3 separate regions of the Homo sapiens genome follow, and regions 1 and 2 are each linked to region 3. The links are contacts of gene promoters, found by promoter capture Hi-C in human tissues and cell types (Jung and others, 2019). All regions are on one chromosome and are shown on one strand. The core of a region is centred on a gene start or on the middle of the fragment in contact, and the rest is flanking DNA. Distances in the headings are between cores, read along the strand shown. Region 1 overlaps SPPL3 (signal peptide peptidase like 3). Region 2 overlaps SPPL3 (signal peptide peptidase like 3). Region 3 holds the start of C12orf43 (chromosome 12 open reading frame 43).

Region 1 (4,512 bases), core at 447-2,946, 130 kb after region 3:
TTTGTTCCCAACTGAGTGCAGTCTGCAGTGATTAAGCTCCAAATTAGTTGGACCAGTAGGGGCGGAATTGGAAGCCTTACTTACACTAAATAATGCCATTCCTTTAGGGGATAAAATCTGGTTTAGACCTCTTTGGTAACAAAACAAGACCTTAACTGAAGTTATTTCTAGTATCTATTTATTGAATAGGTGTGACTTGTCACCCACTTCACACACCATTGTTACCTTTCTGAAAGCCAAAAAAAAAAAAAAACCCAAAAAAAAAACCCAAAAAAACTCTAGCCATAATTTTGAAACATCTCCAGCCATAAGGGTGTCAGATAAGGAATTATGAAACTGTAATACCATATTTTATTGGTGAAAATATTGAAAAGTGTAGATAAACACAAAAAGAATAGAAAAACTACCCACAATTCTACCAACACAGAGAGATCTTTCATTAAATTTGTTGCATATCTTTCAGGTTTAAAAAAAATCCATATATTGTGACAGTTGGTTTTTTTTTTTTTTTAAATTATACAAGTTGTTGAAACCCAGAAATCCCAAATAGAAGTAAAAAAAGAAAAATCCTAATTACCTAATATTTAACTTACTTAGAAAATTTATGGTAACATTTCATGTTACCCTTTTGGGCATTACATATAGGAACTGTAGATCATTTTTTACACAAAAGCAGGAACAGGTTTATACTGTGCTTTCATTTTTATGTGATATTTAATGTCTACAGAAGAATATATGATTTGTATGTGTAGCATAATGAACGCTCATGAACTTCACCAGTTAAAGAAACTATAGGATTACCAATGTTCTGGAAGCCCCCTTTGTACTCTCCTTTGTCCTTCCTCATGCCTCTGTCCCCTGTCCCCGTTTAGGTGTAACCACTGTCGTGAATTTTGTTTACCATCCCTTTGCTTTTTAAAAAAACTAGATTTACATCTGCATTTTTTTTTTTTTTTTTTTGAGACATAGTTTCGCTGTTGTTGCCCACGCTGGAGTGCAGTAGCGTGATCTCAGCTCACCACAACCTCCGCCTCCTGGGTTCAAGCGATTCGCCTGCCTCAGCCTCCTGAGTAGCTGGGATTAGAGGCATGCGCCACCACGCCCGGCTAATTTTGTATTTTTAATAGAGACAGGGTTTCTCCATGTTGATCAGGCTGGTCTTGAACTCCCAACCTCAGGTGATCCACCCACCTTGGCCTCCCAAAGTGTTGGTATTACAGGCATGAGCCACCACGCCCGGCTTACGTCTACATTTTAATGTTTTACTGTACAACATGTTTTGTTTTGCTTTTTTAAATAAGTTTATAAAGATGACATATATTGTCTTTTATAATTTGTTTTTTTCAGTCAATATTTTTTCTAAGATTTGTCCCAGTTGTTGCATTCCTTTCCAGTGCTGTATAATGTTCCATCCTGTGAATATATAATCACATTATTTATCTGTTCTGATAAATATTTAGTTTCCAGTTTGAGGCTATTTCAGAGGAGTCTTGTGAACATTCTTGTATATTTTCCTGGTATTTATGTTTCAGAGTTTTCTTAGGGTTTATATACCTGGGAGTAGAATCTACCATTATCTTTTATGGTGAGTGCTTTTTGTGTCCTAAGAAATTCTTCTCTAGCCTGAAGTCTTGAAGATAGTCTCCTATATGTTCCTCTAAATAGGAATAGGTTAGAGTTCAAGCTTTGCCTTTCACATAGAAGTTTTTAATCCATCTAGAATTAAGTTTGTTTTTTGTTTGTTTGTTTGTTTTTTGAGACGGGAGTCTTGCTCTGTCGCCCAGGCTGGAGTGCAGTGGTGCGATCTCGGCTCACTGCAAGCTCTGCCTGCCAGGTTCATGCCATTCTCCTGCCTCAGCTTCCTGAATAGCTGGGATTACAGGTGCCCGCCACCACGCCTGGCTAATTTTTTTGTATTTTTAGTAGAGACGGGGTTTCGCCGTGTTAGCCAGGATGGTCTTGATCTCCTGACCTCGTGATCTGCCTGCCTCAGCCTCCCAAAGTGCTGGGATTACAGTTGTGAGCCACCACGCCCGGCCTCTAGAATTAAGTTTTATATATCTGTGTATGGATTAGTTAGGAATCCAATTGTCCCAGAACTATATGTTGATAAAATAGTCCCTGCTTTCCTCAACGATCTCTAGCATTACCTCTGTGATTGGTTTTAAAAAGCCAGGGTCTAGCTCTGTTGCCCAGGCTGGAGTGCAGTGGTGCCATCATAGTTAACTGTAACCTTGAACTCCTAGCCTCAAGCAATCTTTCGCCTTGGCTTCCCACAGCACTGGGTTTACAGATATAAGCCACTGTGCCCAGGTGGAGATTGTTTTTGTATGTGTGTTTATGAAAGTAATGTTAAAATGGTAAATAGTGTTTTGTTATATGCTTTTTAAAATTAAATATATCTTGAATGTCTTTTGATACCATTTAATATATAATCAGTTTTTGTGGATACATAGGAGACCACTGTATTCAATCTCTCTAGTTTTTATTATATCACTTTTATTCCTGATCTTCCAGTTGCCCTGTCTCAAGAAAGCTTATAACCAGTTTTCTTTCTATCTTTCTAGAAATGTGTGCATGAAAACACATGTGTATACAAAGTCCTATGCAGTACCCCTGTTATATTGCAGTAAAATACACATAGCATAAAATTGACCATTTTAAGTGTCACTGAACTCAGTGGCATTAAGTACATGCACATTATTGTGCAACCTTCACCACCATCCATTTCCAGAACTTTTTAATCTTCCCAGATTGACACTGTATACAGTAGTCCCCTCTTATCCACATCCCAAGACTCCCAGTGGATACCTTGAAACTGCCGATAGTACTGAACCCTGTATATACTGTTTATTCAATCTGATAACCAAGATGGTTATCAAATGTCAAACTGGTGGGTAGGGGTAGTGTATGTATATAGCATGAAGATGGTAGACAGAGGGATGAGTGACATCCCAGGCAGGAGGGAGCAGGATGGCATGAGACTTCATCATACTACTCAGAATGGTCCACACTTTAAAACTTACGACTTTTTTCTGGAAATTTCCATTTAATATTTTCAGACCACGGTTGACTGCATGGAAGGTGAAACCATAGATAAGTTTAATCGGAACTACTGTACCCATTAAACTTTTAACTCCTCATTCCCCTCTCTCCCCACACCCTGGCAACCTTTGTTCTCCTTTCTGTCTCTGTGAATTTGACTATGCTAGGTACCTCATATAAATGGAATCTAACAATATTTTGTTTCTTTTTTTTTTTGTTATTGGCTTTTTCACTTAGAGTAATGCCCCCCGAGCTTCATCTATATTTAGCGTGTGTCAGAATTTTCTTCCTTTTAAAGGCTGGATAATACTTGACTGTATGGGTAAGACCACATTTTGTGTATCTGTTCATTTGTTGATGGGCAGTAGTTGCTTCCACCTTTTAGTTACTATGAGTAATACAATGAATATTGGTGTACAAATATCTGTTCGAGACCCTGCTTTCAGTTCTTTTGGATATAAACCTAGAAGTGGGATTGCTCAATCTCGTATGGCAATTCAACATTTAATTTTTTTCCTTCTCTTCTCTTCTCTTTTTTTTTTTTTTTTTTTGAGGCAGTCTCACTCTTTTGCCCAGGCTGGAGTTCTGTGGCGCTGTCTTGGCTCACTGCAACCTCTGCCTCCTGGTTCAAGTGATTCTCCTGCCTCAGCCTCCCAAGTAGCTGGGATTACAGGCACACACCAACACGCCCAGCTAATTTTTGTATTTTTAGTAGCAACAGGGTTTCACCATGTTGGTTAGGCTAGTCTTGAATTCCTGACCTCAGATGATCCTCCCGCCTCGGCCTCCCAAAGTGCTGGGATTACAGGCGGGAGCCACCGCACCTGGGCAACATTTTAATTTTTTGAGGATCCACCATTACCATTTTCCATAGTGACTGCCAAATTTTACATTCCCACCAGCAATGTATAAGGGTTTCAGTTTTTCCACATCCTTGCCAACACTAGTTGAATTTTGTGTGTGTGTGTGTTTTCTTTCAATAGCCATCCTAATGGGTATGAAGTGGTATCTCATTGTGATTTTGATTTATATTTCTCTAGTGATTAGTGATGCTGAGCATCTGTTCACGTTTATTGACCATTTGTGTATCTTTGGAGTAGTGTTTATTCACGTCCTTTGTCCATTTTTTTTTTTGGCTGGGTTGATTGTTGTTGAGCTGTAGTTATTAGTATATTCTGGATATCAATCCCTTATCAGTTATATGATTTGCAAATAATTTTTTTTTCCCCCGAGACGGAGTCTCTCTCTGTCGCCCAGGCTAGAGTGCAGTGGTGTGATCTCGGCTCACTGCAACCTCTGCCTTCCGGGTTCAAGCGATTCTCCTGCCTCAGCCTCCCGAGTAGCTGGGACTGGAGGCACGTGCCACCATGCTCAGCTAATTTTTTGTATTTTTAGTAGAGATGGGTTTCACCGTGTTAGCCAGGATGGTCTCCATCTCCTGACCTCATGATCTGCACACTTCAGCCT
Region 2 (4,786 bases), core at 547-3,046, 190 kb after region 3:
AAAGAGAGGTCCCATTAGTTCTTCTTTCAAAATATAGTTTGTGACTATAGCACCTCCTCTTTCCACTTCGTACTAACCTAGACTTGATCACCTCATGCTTAGATTATCATAAGAATCTTACTTGGTCTCCTTGATTCTAGTCTCTTCTGCCCAATTTATCTACACTGAATATTTCTGCCTGACTGATTTTCCAAAAATATTATAGACTCTTATGATTTTTACTCTACTAGTTGAATAAAAGCAATGTTTTCAGGTGACGTTAAAACTCCAGCAGCTAAAATCCTGCTAACAAACCTTGACTTCAAGTACACCATAATTTAACCCCTCTGTAAACAGAAGCTGATCTTGCAGTGAGTCTCTCTGGAATTCCATTCTTCCGTAAGACAAGCGATATTTGCTCCTGTTGATATTCCTGTGTACATGTGCCCTGTTACTAGAGAGTTAAGATCATGACCTTTATTCTTTTGGGATTTGTTTTCTCACCTCCACTCTCTTTTCTCTCTACCAAGCCAAACTCCTTTCAGGTGCTCAATAAACAGATGCTCTTTAGTGTTTCCTAACTCACAGAAAAATTTTTCTCTGAATACATCAGGTCTGTTTGATAACAAATTCAGTTAACTGAATTGGGGCTGCTTTTGCCATAATTTCCTTTTTAGTGTGTCAGGCTTGTTTTTTCAAACTAAATAATTGGCTGGATTATATAGTTTTTCAATTATTAATTTAGTAAAACTTTATTATTTTGGATTTAATGAATTAAAATTTGTGAACATTGTTCTGGATCAAACTGACATTATGTAAGTTTGGATCTGTCCTTTTTTTTTAAATGAGTTTAAGGTGTTAGTAATTAAGATTCCATTTGTGTTATAAATATAATGACTATCCAGTAGACTTAAGGTAGTGTCATATAAGGAAGGGCACACTATGAGAAAGGGACTGGGGGTGGGGGGCATGTTTACCCTTTAACATTTGTTCCATTCCATCTGCAGTTAAGCTTTCTAGAAATATGTTGTTACAGTAGCTACTTAAGTGTTTTTAAATTGTCTTTTCAAATGAATAGGGCATGGAAGTTTGTTACTCTTTTCTGTGTGAAAAACAGTGTCAAAAGTTTAAGAAGGCCAGGCAGCTTCACGCTTGTAATCCCAGCAAGTTGGGAGGCCAATGCTGAAGGATCACTTGAGTCTAGGAGTTCAAGACCAGCTTGGGTAATATGGCAAAACCCCATCTCTACAAAAATTGCAAACAAAAAAAATTAGCCTGATGTGGTGGCATGCGCCTGTCTCCCCAGCTACTTAGGAGGCTGACATGAGAGGATCACCTGAGCCCAAGGAGGTCAAGGCTGCAGTGAGCCGTGATCATGCCACTACACTCCGGCCTGGGTGACAGAGTGAGACCTTGTCTCAGAAAAAATAAAAGTTTAAGAAAACCATTGTATTTAAATTGGGCTCTTTGAAAATTAAATTCTGCTATAGAACTTACTCTGTAGTATTACTTGTTAAATTCTATATCCGACTGAAGAACACAAGCTTTTAGTATTTAGTATAAGTGAAAAATATAGCCAAATCAGACATCACTAACACTTTTTTGTCTTTTTTGCTAACGTTTCCACCAGAATCCTGTGTTCCATTAAAAAAAAATTTTAGTGTTATTTTAAAAACTCAAATAATACAGAAATGTGAAATAGTCCCATTTTTAATAAAAGTGGTTTTATGTGATACGTAGGTCTTCAGCTTGCTTCTTCCTAACAATTCTTCGTGCCATTCTTTTAAATTTCTTTGTGGGCTGGGTGCAGTGGCTCACGCCTATAATCCTAGCACTTTGGGAGGCTGAGGCGGGCAAATCACAAGGTCAGGAGATCGAGACCATCCTGGCTAACACCGTGAAACCCCATCTCTACTAAAAATAGAAAAAATTAGCTGGGCTTGGTGGCGGGCGCCTGTAGTCCCAGCTACTTGGGAGGCTGAGGCAGGAGAATGGTGTGAACCCGGGAGGCGGAGCTTGCAGTGAGCTGAGATTGCGCCACTGCACTCCAGCCTGGGCGACAGAGTGAGACTCCGTCTCAAAAAAAAAAAAATGTCTTTGTGATAGAGTGAATTATATAAAACACAATGACTATAGTAAAACAAATAGGTTAATTCACCCCACTATGTTTCTGTTTTTTCATCTGTACAAAATGGGGATCATAATGGGAAGCTCTTAGGACAGTGCTGGGCACATGACTCAGTAAAAGATTGCTGTTACAACTTGGAAAAGGGAATCATCAGCCTATATAGATGATAACCAAAGGCATGAGAGTAGACAGTATCACCCAGAGATGAGATGTGGAGTAAGAAGTAAAGAGAACTGATGACAGAGCCCTGATGGGCAGAGGAGAAGGAGAAAATACGGAGCCAGAGAGCAGGGAAGAAATCCAGTAGGATGTCGTGGGAGCTGGGATAAAATTGTTTCAAGAAAAGGAAGTGGCTACTGTTGTCAGATCCTGCAAGGGGAGCGGGGATATCAAGTAAGATATTGACTGAAGTGTTACTAGATTAAGTAACAACAAGATTGTTGATGATCTTGGGGAGAGCAAATTCCATGGAGTGCTGGGGATAGAAGGCACAGTGTGACAAGGAGATACCAGTGAAGACGGCAAATACAGCCAGATCCCTAGCTTTGGTAGCCCTATGTGAACTGGCCTTTCTTCCTTTTGTTCTCTGTCCTCCCCGCCACCGCCGCCGCCCCCCCACCCCCCACCCCCACACACACACTCTCCGTCTCTCACAGACACCTTTGTGGGAATATGCTCTAGCTCTTGCTTTTTGTCTCTTGCACGCATGATCACTCACTCTTGCTCTCTCCTCTCTAGCCCAACTGAACTGCTTGACTACTTTGTGAACTCCCAGCAGGTCGCACTGTCACATAGGCCTCCATGCTGAGTTCCTACACCTGTCTGTTTAATTTGGCAACCTGTTTACTTCTTTTTGTCTCCCTGTTAGGCAATTCTTGGTGGGTGGTAGGGGCTGAGTCTTTATCATGGAGTGCTAGTACCTAGCAGAGTCCTCATGCATGTGGTGATACATAAGATAGGACAGAACAGTGACCAGAGGTATTTATTCTAGTTGGAGCTTGTAACAGACATTAGATACTGCAAGATGATGGAGAGATTTGGTTTGATTTTTAGATGTGTTGAATTTGAGGTGACCGTGGTATATGCAGGTAGAAGTGTGCCCCCAGGGTCATTGGAGATTTGCTACTGAAATTCAGTCTGTCTAATCCCTCCTTGCTCTGGGGCTCAAGAGACTTTCCTTCTTCAATTTTTTCATCATCCCAGACAGAAACCCTAGTTTGTCCTGATAGAAGTAAGGGATGAACTGTGATTTAAACTCTTAGGCTCCTGTTTGCTTGTCCACAGAATTTGTCACTAGGAGAGGTTAGCCCCCAGGAAATAACTAAATGTCAATCTGTAGCATTCATTTTTAAAAGTCACTGGAAATTTTCTTCTTGAAGTTAGATTTTGGAATTGTAGGGATGCTTTTAAGACTTCGTTTCTAGAATCATTTCTAAAACTATTATCAGCATTAAATGGCAGGGAATAATCTTTTAATGAAACAGATACAGTAAAAACCAGTTCTTTTAGAGGTTAAGAGCAGTTTTTAAAATTTTCCTTAAGTTTTATAAAAGTTGTTATTGTAAAATATACATAACATACAATTTGAAATTTACCATTGAACTTTTTCTAAGTGTACAGTTCAGTAACATTAAGTACGTTCACTTATGTTTTGTGCAACAGTCACCACTATTCATTTCCAGACCTTTTTCATCATCCCAAACAGAAACTCTGTATGCATCAAACAAAAACTCCCCATTCCCTTTCTCTCCAGTCCTGGTATCCGCTATTCTGCTTTCTTTTTCTATGAATTTGCCTAATCTAGGTCTGTCATATAAGTTGAGTCATAACAATATTTGTCTCTTTTTTCTGGTTTATTTCACATAGCATCATGTTTTTGAAGTTGATTTATGTTGTAGCATGTATCAGAATTTTCTTCTTTTTTAAGGATGAATAATATTTGATTGGATGGCTGTACCACAATTTATTTATCCATTCATTCACCGATAGACACTTGGGTTACTTCCACCCAACCCAACCCATTATTCACGGCCCAGCCATTGTGAAAATTGGTGTACAAGTATGTTTGAGTCCCTGCTTTCAGTTATTTGGGGCAAATACCTAGGCTTTAGTAAGTTTTATGAGCACATATCCTGAGAGGGTATTTAGATATCCAGTAGCATTTTTCTTATGAAATAGTAATTTCAACCAGCATGTTAACATAGATTTTTGCAAGTTTTTAAGGAGATTTATTTTGTACAAGTTCTAAAGCAGTCTTGGATCATGATACAAAGATACCTTCAAAAGCTGTATTATAATTTTTTTTTTCTGTAAATAAGTCCCTTGGCCAAATAAAAATGCAAAACTGCTTTATCCAGCTTGTACCTATTGGCTTTGTCCGAGGAAACCAGTTGCCTAATTTCTTTCCCTTGCCTTATGTTTGCTGCAGCCAGCCCAGGGCTGTTTCCGGCTGCAGTGTTGAACACAGGAACCACAGTGTGTTGCTGGTTGTGTGCGCAAGTCACAATCAAAAGCGCATGCTTTGGAAACTATGATGTGAGGACCTGTCTTAGAGGATAATTCATAGGAAAAAGTTGAAGCATATTGCCATCGAAGCCTTTAATGTGGGGTCTTCTTTCTGTTTCAATCCCTCTCCCCGCCCCCGGCAATAAATCCTTTCTTATCTATCCTAGGCAATAA
Region 3 (4,501 bases), core at 1,016-3,515:
ACTACAGGCACCTACCACTGTGCCCAGCTAATTTTTTTTTTATTTTTAGTAGAGACGGGGTTTCACCATCTTGGCCAGGCTAGTCTCGAACTCCTGACCTTGTGATCCACCTGTCTTGGCCTCCCACAGTGCTGGGATTACAGTTGTGAGCCACCATGCCTGGCCTCTGGGGTCTCTTTTATGAAGGCATTGATCCAGTTCATGAGGGCTCAGGACCCATTATGTAATTGAAAGATTCTCCGTGGGGCCTGAAAGCTTAAGAGAATGAATGACCCCTCCCTCCCCTCCCTCCTTGGGCCCGGTCCCAAGGCGCAAGGCCACTCGCGCCAGCAGCATGTGTCAGCAAGATAGCAGAAGCGGGAAGAGAGCGGGCCAGAAGACACCTACCCCCTGAAGACCGAGAGAGACGTCATCCGGGTACAATGTAGCGGTTACAACAGACTGAGAAACTTCCTGTTTACAGGAGACTACAAAACCCCTGCCCCGTCCTCATTTGGTGCTGACGCCATTTTAAGCCTCAGCCCACCTGCACACACACTGCCTCATGTTGTCTGTTGGCCACGCTCTTGGGGTTCGAACCAACACAAGACCCTTTCACTAATTACTTCCCAGAGGTCCCACCTCCTAATACCATCACCTTGGGAGTAAGGACTTTTTGGAAATTATCAGTATCAAAATGGAGTCACTTATGTCAAACCCTAACAAATGCCTGTCACAAAAATTATCTCAAGAAGTTCCTAAAATCCGCAGTATTATAGATAAACCACTTGCATAAGAATATTTGCCTAACAGTGGGTGTCTCCACAATAAGCTAAAGCCAACTCCTGCAACAGGCTCCTGTGATCAACGGTACTTGTTTTAAAGAAGCTTATGTGGACTTTGTCTTTTCTCGTTGCCACAACCTCTTTTAATGTGCCTATAGTCCACTATAGCATGCATATCTCAAATTGCAATTCCTTGCAATTCTGGAATAAACGCTTTATTTTGGAGAGTCAGTCTCTCTGTTATTTATTTTATGGTGTCAATTTTAACATATGAATTTTGGAGGAACACATTCAGACCATATCAGTCACCTTCCTCTTCTTTGAAATAGAAAAAGCTCAAGGCCAGAGAGTTTATTTTAGTAAAGTTTTGACATACCTGTCTTCAAAGATAAAACATGAAACAGCATTCCACACACAAAAGTAAAGTGATTTTGTTCATCCTTCACTGTGAGGTATTTTAACCACAGAGATTCTAATTTTTTGGTCTTGGATGGGTCCTGGGAGTCAGTATTGCCTGGCTAATTTTTGTATTTTTAGTAGAGATGGGGTTTCACCATGTTGGTCAGGCTAGTCTCGAACTCCTGACCTCATGATCTGCCCGCCTCGGCCTCACAAAGTGTTGGGATTACAGATGTGAGCCACCGTGCCCGGACAGGATTCTGCATTTCTCTTTTTTTTTTTTCGAGACAGAGTCTCAGTCTGTTGCCCAGGCTGGAGTGCAGTGGCACGATCTTGGCTCACCTCAACCTCCACCTCCCAGGTTCAAGTGATTTTCCTGCCTCAGCCTCCTGAGTAGCTGGGACTACAGGTGCGTGCCACCATGCCCAGCTAATTTTTGTATTTTTAGTAGAGATGGGGTTTCACTATGTTGGCCAGGCTGGTCTCGAACTCCTGACCTTGTGATCTGCCTGCCTCAGCCCCCCAAAGTGTTGGGATTACAGGCGTGAGCCACCGTGCCCAGCCTGGATTCTGCATTTCTAACGAGCTCCCAGGTGTTACCAATGCTGCTGGCTCATGGACTACACTCTTAAGTAGTAAGGCCCTAGGCTATTAAAGGAAATACAGATTCCTGGATTCCACCTATCAGAGATTCTGATTCTGTTAGTATTTTCTGTGAGACCCAAAAGTCTGCAGTTTAACCAGCTCTCTAAGGTGTTTCTTAGGCCCAGCTGGACTGGGAAATTACTAGAATAAATGACATGGAATCAAAACCTGGGAACTAATCCTGGGTCTGTCATTAACTCCTTAGGAGATTCCCATCCCCTCTGGAGATCTGTCATCAAGAAATGATTGGAGAAGTTAATCTCTTAGGCCCTTCTAGCTCTTGCCTTTGAGAACCGCCCACCTCCCCATTCCCACCTGGTATCCCCAACCCAGTACAGTTCATGGCCAATGGCGGTCCAAGTCTTGGAACTACAATCCCCACAATGCCTCGCGCCTCTCCTCTCACGTGACGTCATGAAGGAGGCTTGATAACGGCGGTGTTCTCCACAATCCTTTGCGGTGGTTCAAGATGGCGGCGCCCAGTGGCACAGTGAGCGATTCGGAAAGTAGTAACAGCAGTAGCGATGCGGAGGAGCTGGAGCGGTGCCGCGAGGCGGCAATGCCGGCTTGGGGCTTGGAGCAACGCCCGCACGTGGCAGGGAAGCCAAGAGCCGGTAGGGTACTATGTTTGGGGAGACTGGCTGAGGGGCGTGGGATCTTCCCCTGGAGCCTGAGAGGATGGATGGTGAGGAGAGAGTCACTGGGACTCGGCTTCCTTCCCCGAGAGACCTCCAGGGACTGGGTGTAGTGCAGATTGAAAGCATGGGCAGGTGCAGTAGGGAGGGTATTTCATTATTCCAGTCGGGGAAGCTGAGGTACCCAAATGTCTTTTGATTCTGCCTCCTTGGGTCTATCCTCACTGCCCCACACTGGGAAGGCTGCCGTCTCTTCGAGATAACTGCAACAGCCCCCTCCCGGTATTCTCGCACCCAGCCTTTCCCCACCTCCAACACATTCTCCCACCCTGGAGGTTGTTGCCAAGAGCAGTGCCCAGCACATCACTCTGACCGTGACTCCCTAGTGCCCTGGGAATAAATACAGAGCCCCGCAACATCAAGGGGCCTAATCATGGATAGAACCCAAGGGTTCTTGAATTTGGAATGAAAACATGTTGCATCTTTGCTTTCTATTCATCTCTGACTGAATTTTAGCATCTCTTTCCGTCTTGCAAGCACTAAGCCACAGTAGTTCTGGCAATGCCGTTACTTTATCCCAACAGAAGTCACAGATTTTCATATCTCATTACAATCTTTGCAGATACAGATATCAATATATCATTTTATTGATAAAAAGATATTGGGGAAAAAAGTCATTTACACTCATCCCTGATTTAAAATGTGCCACTCTAATTTTTAGACCCATCTCTATATCTAAGATGTAAGAAGCACATACATCACAAGTTTGGTTGTTTACTATCATGATAATTAAATTTCGGTATCATTGGTTTTCTTTGTAATCCTGTATGTTGCATTTCATGCATTTAAAACATTGCTCTGAGAAGAGAACCGGGCTTCACCAGGCTGTTAGAGAAGGCTATGGCAAAGCAAGGTTAAGAACCGCTGGATTTGTTTAAAAGGACTTACAAGCCCTTTGGTGATCCATTGCCTTCCTCTCCCTTCCTTCCCTCCTGCCATACTGCACTTCCTGTAGGTAGCTTCCAGACCATAGTCTGCCCCTCTCACCCCCTAGTACCATAACCACAGTTTTCTCTGCAAGTTCTATTTACAGATCTGCCTTTCCATCTCATTAGCGGTGGGAACTTGAGCAAAGTACTTAAATCTCACTGTACCTAAATTTCCTCATCTGTACAGTGCGGGTAGTGATAGTACCCACCCCATAAGGTTGAGAAGTAACTGAGATAATGCAATCTACAGTGCTTGGCACATCTTAAAGGCCCAATACATGGTGGCAAATATGTGGTTGGTCTTTCCACATGGACTGCTTTCCTCCTCCTGCCTAATTCTCGCTCTTTTTTTTTTCAAAACTAGGACTCAGTCTGTTACCGAGGCTGACACAATCATGGCTCACTGCAACCTCGACCTCCCCCTACTCAGATGATCCTCCCACCTCAGCCTCCCAAGTAGCTGAGACTACAGATGTATAGTCCCAGCTACTTTTTGTATTTTTTGTAGAGATGGGGTTTTGCCATGTTGCCCAGGCTGGTCTCGAACTCCTGGGCTCAAGTGATCCTCCCTTCTCAACCTTCAAAGTGCTGAGATTACAGGTGTGAGCCACTGTGCTCGGCTTCTAGTTTTTTTTGTTTGTTTGTTTGTTTTTTGGGGTTTTTTTTTTTTTTTTGCATTTTTTTTTTTTGAGATGGAGTTTCACTCTTGTTGCCCAGGCTGCAGTGCAATGGCACGATCTCAGCTCACTGCAACCTCTGCCTCCTGGGTTCAAGTGATTCTCCTGCCTCAGCCTCCCTAGTAGCTGGGATTACAGGCGCCTGCCACCACGCCCAGCTAATTTTTTGTATTTTTAGTACAGACAGGGTTTCACCGTGTTGGCCAGGCTGGTCTCAAACTCCAGACCTCAGGCAATCCACCTGCCTCGGCCTTCCAAAGTGCTGGGATTACAGGTGTGAGCCACCGCGCCTGGTCTCTTTTTTTCTTTTTGAGACGCAGTCTCGCTCTGTTACCAAGGCTGGAGTGCAATGGCGCGATCTTGGCTCCCTGCAACCTCCGCCTCCCAAGCTC

What was found. Contacts are between HindIII fragments. The study calls those that stand out against the background at their distance.
Region 1: a contact is called between a fragment that was not itself captured here and the fragment with the promoter of C12orf43 in region 3, in 1 of the 25 tissues and cell types used here (mesenchymal stem cells).
Region 2: a contact is called between a fragment that was not itself captured here and the fragment with the promoter of C12orf43 in region 3, in 1 of the 25 tissues and cell types used here (aorta).

Annotation. Positions count from the first base shown.
Region 1 is chr12:120,880,550-120,885,061 of GRCh38, reverse strand. The region is part of intron 1 of SPPL3 (signal peptide peptidase like 3); the gene reads left to right. Among named protein-coding and RNA genes, the nearest start is that of SPPL3, 22 kb to the left of the region's middle. The HindIII fragment of the contact is 4,130 bases long and covers 1-3,761 here.
Region 2 is chr12:120,821,161-120,825,946 of GRCh38, reverse strand. All of the region lies in intron 1 of SPPL3 (signal peptide peptidase like 3), which reads left to right. Among named protein-coding and RNA genes, the nearest start is that of SPPL3, 81 kb to the left of the region's middle. RefSeq lists an enhancer at 2,990-3,059. The HindIII fragment of the contact is 3,166 bases long and covers 214-3,379 here.
Region 3 is chr12:121,014,251-121,018,751 of GRCh38, reverse strand. C12orf43 (chromosome 12 open reading frame 43) reads left to right here and starts at 2,265. Exons shown (of 6, transcript NM_022895.3): 1 at 2,265-2,422. The coding sequence starts at 2,278. It also overlaps a transcript of OASL not described here. RefSeq lists a silencer at 2,169-2,362 and enhancers at 2,090-2,599, 2,571-3,086. The HindIII fragment of the contact is 5,444 bases long and covers 562-4,501 here.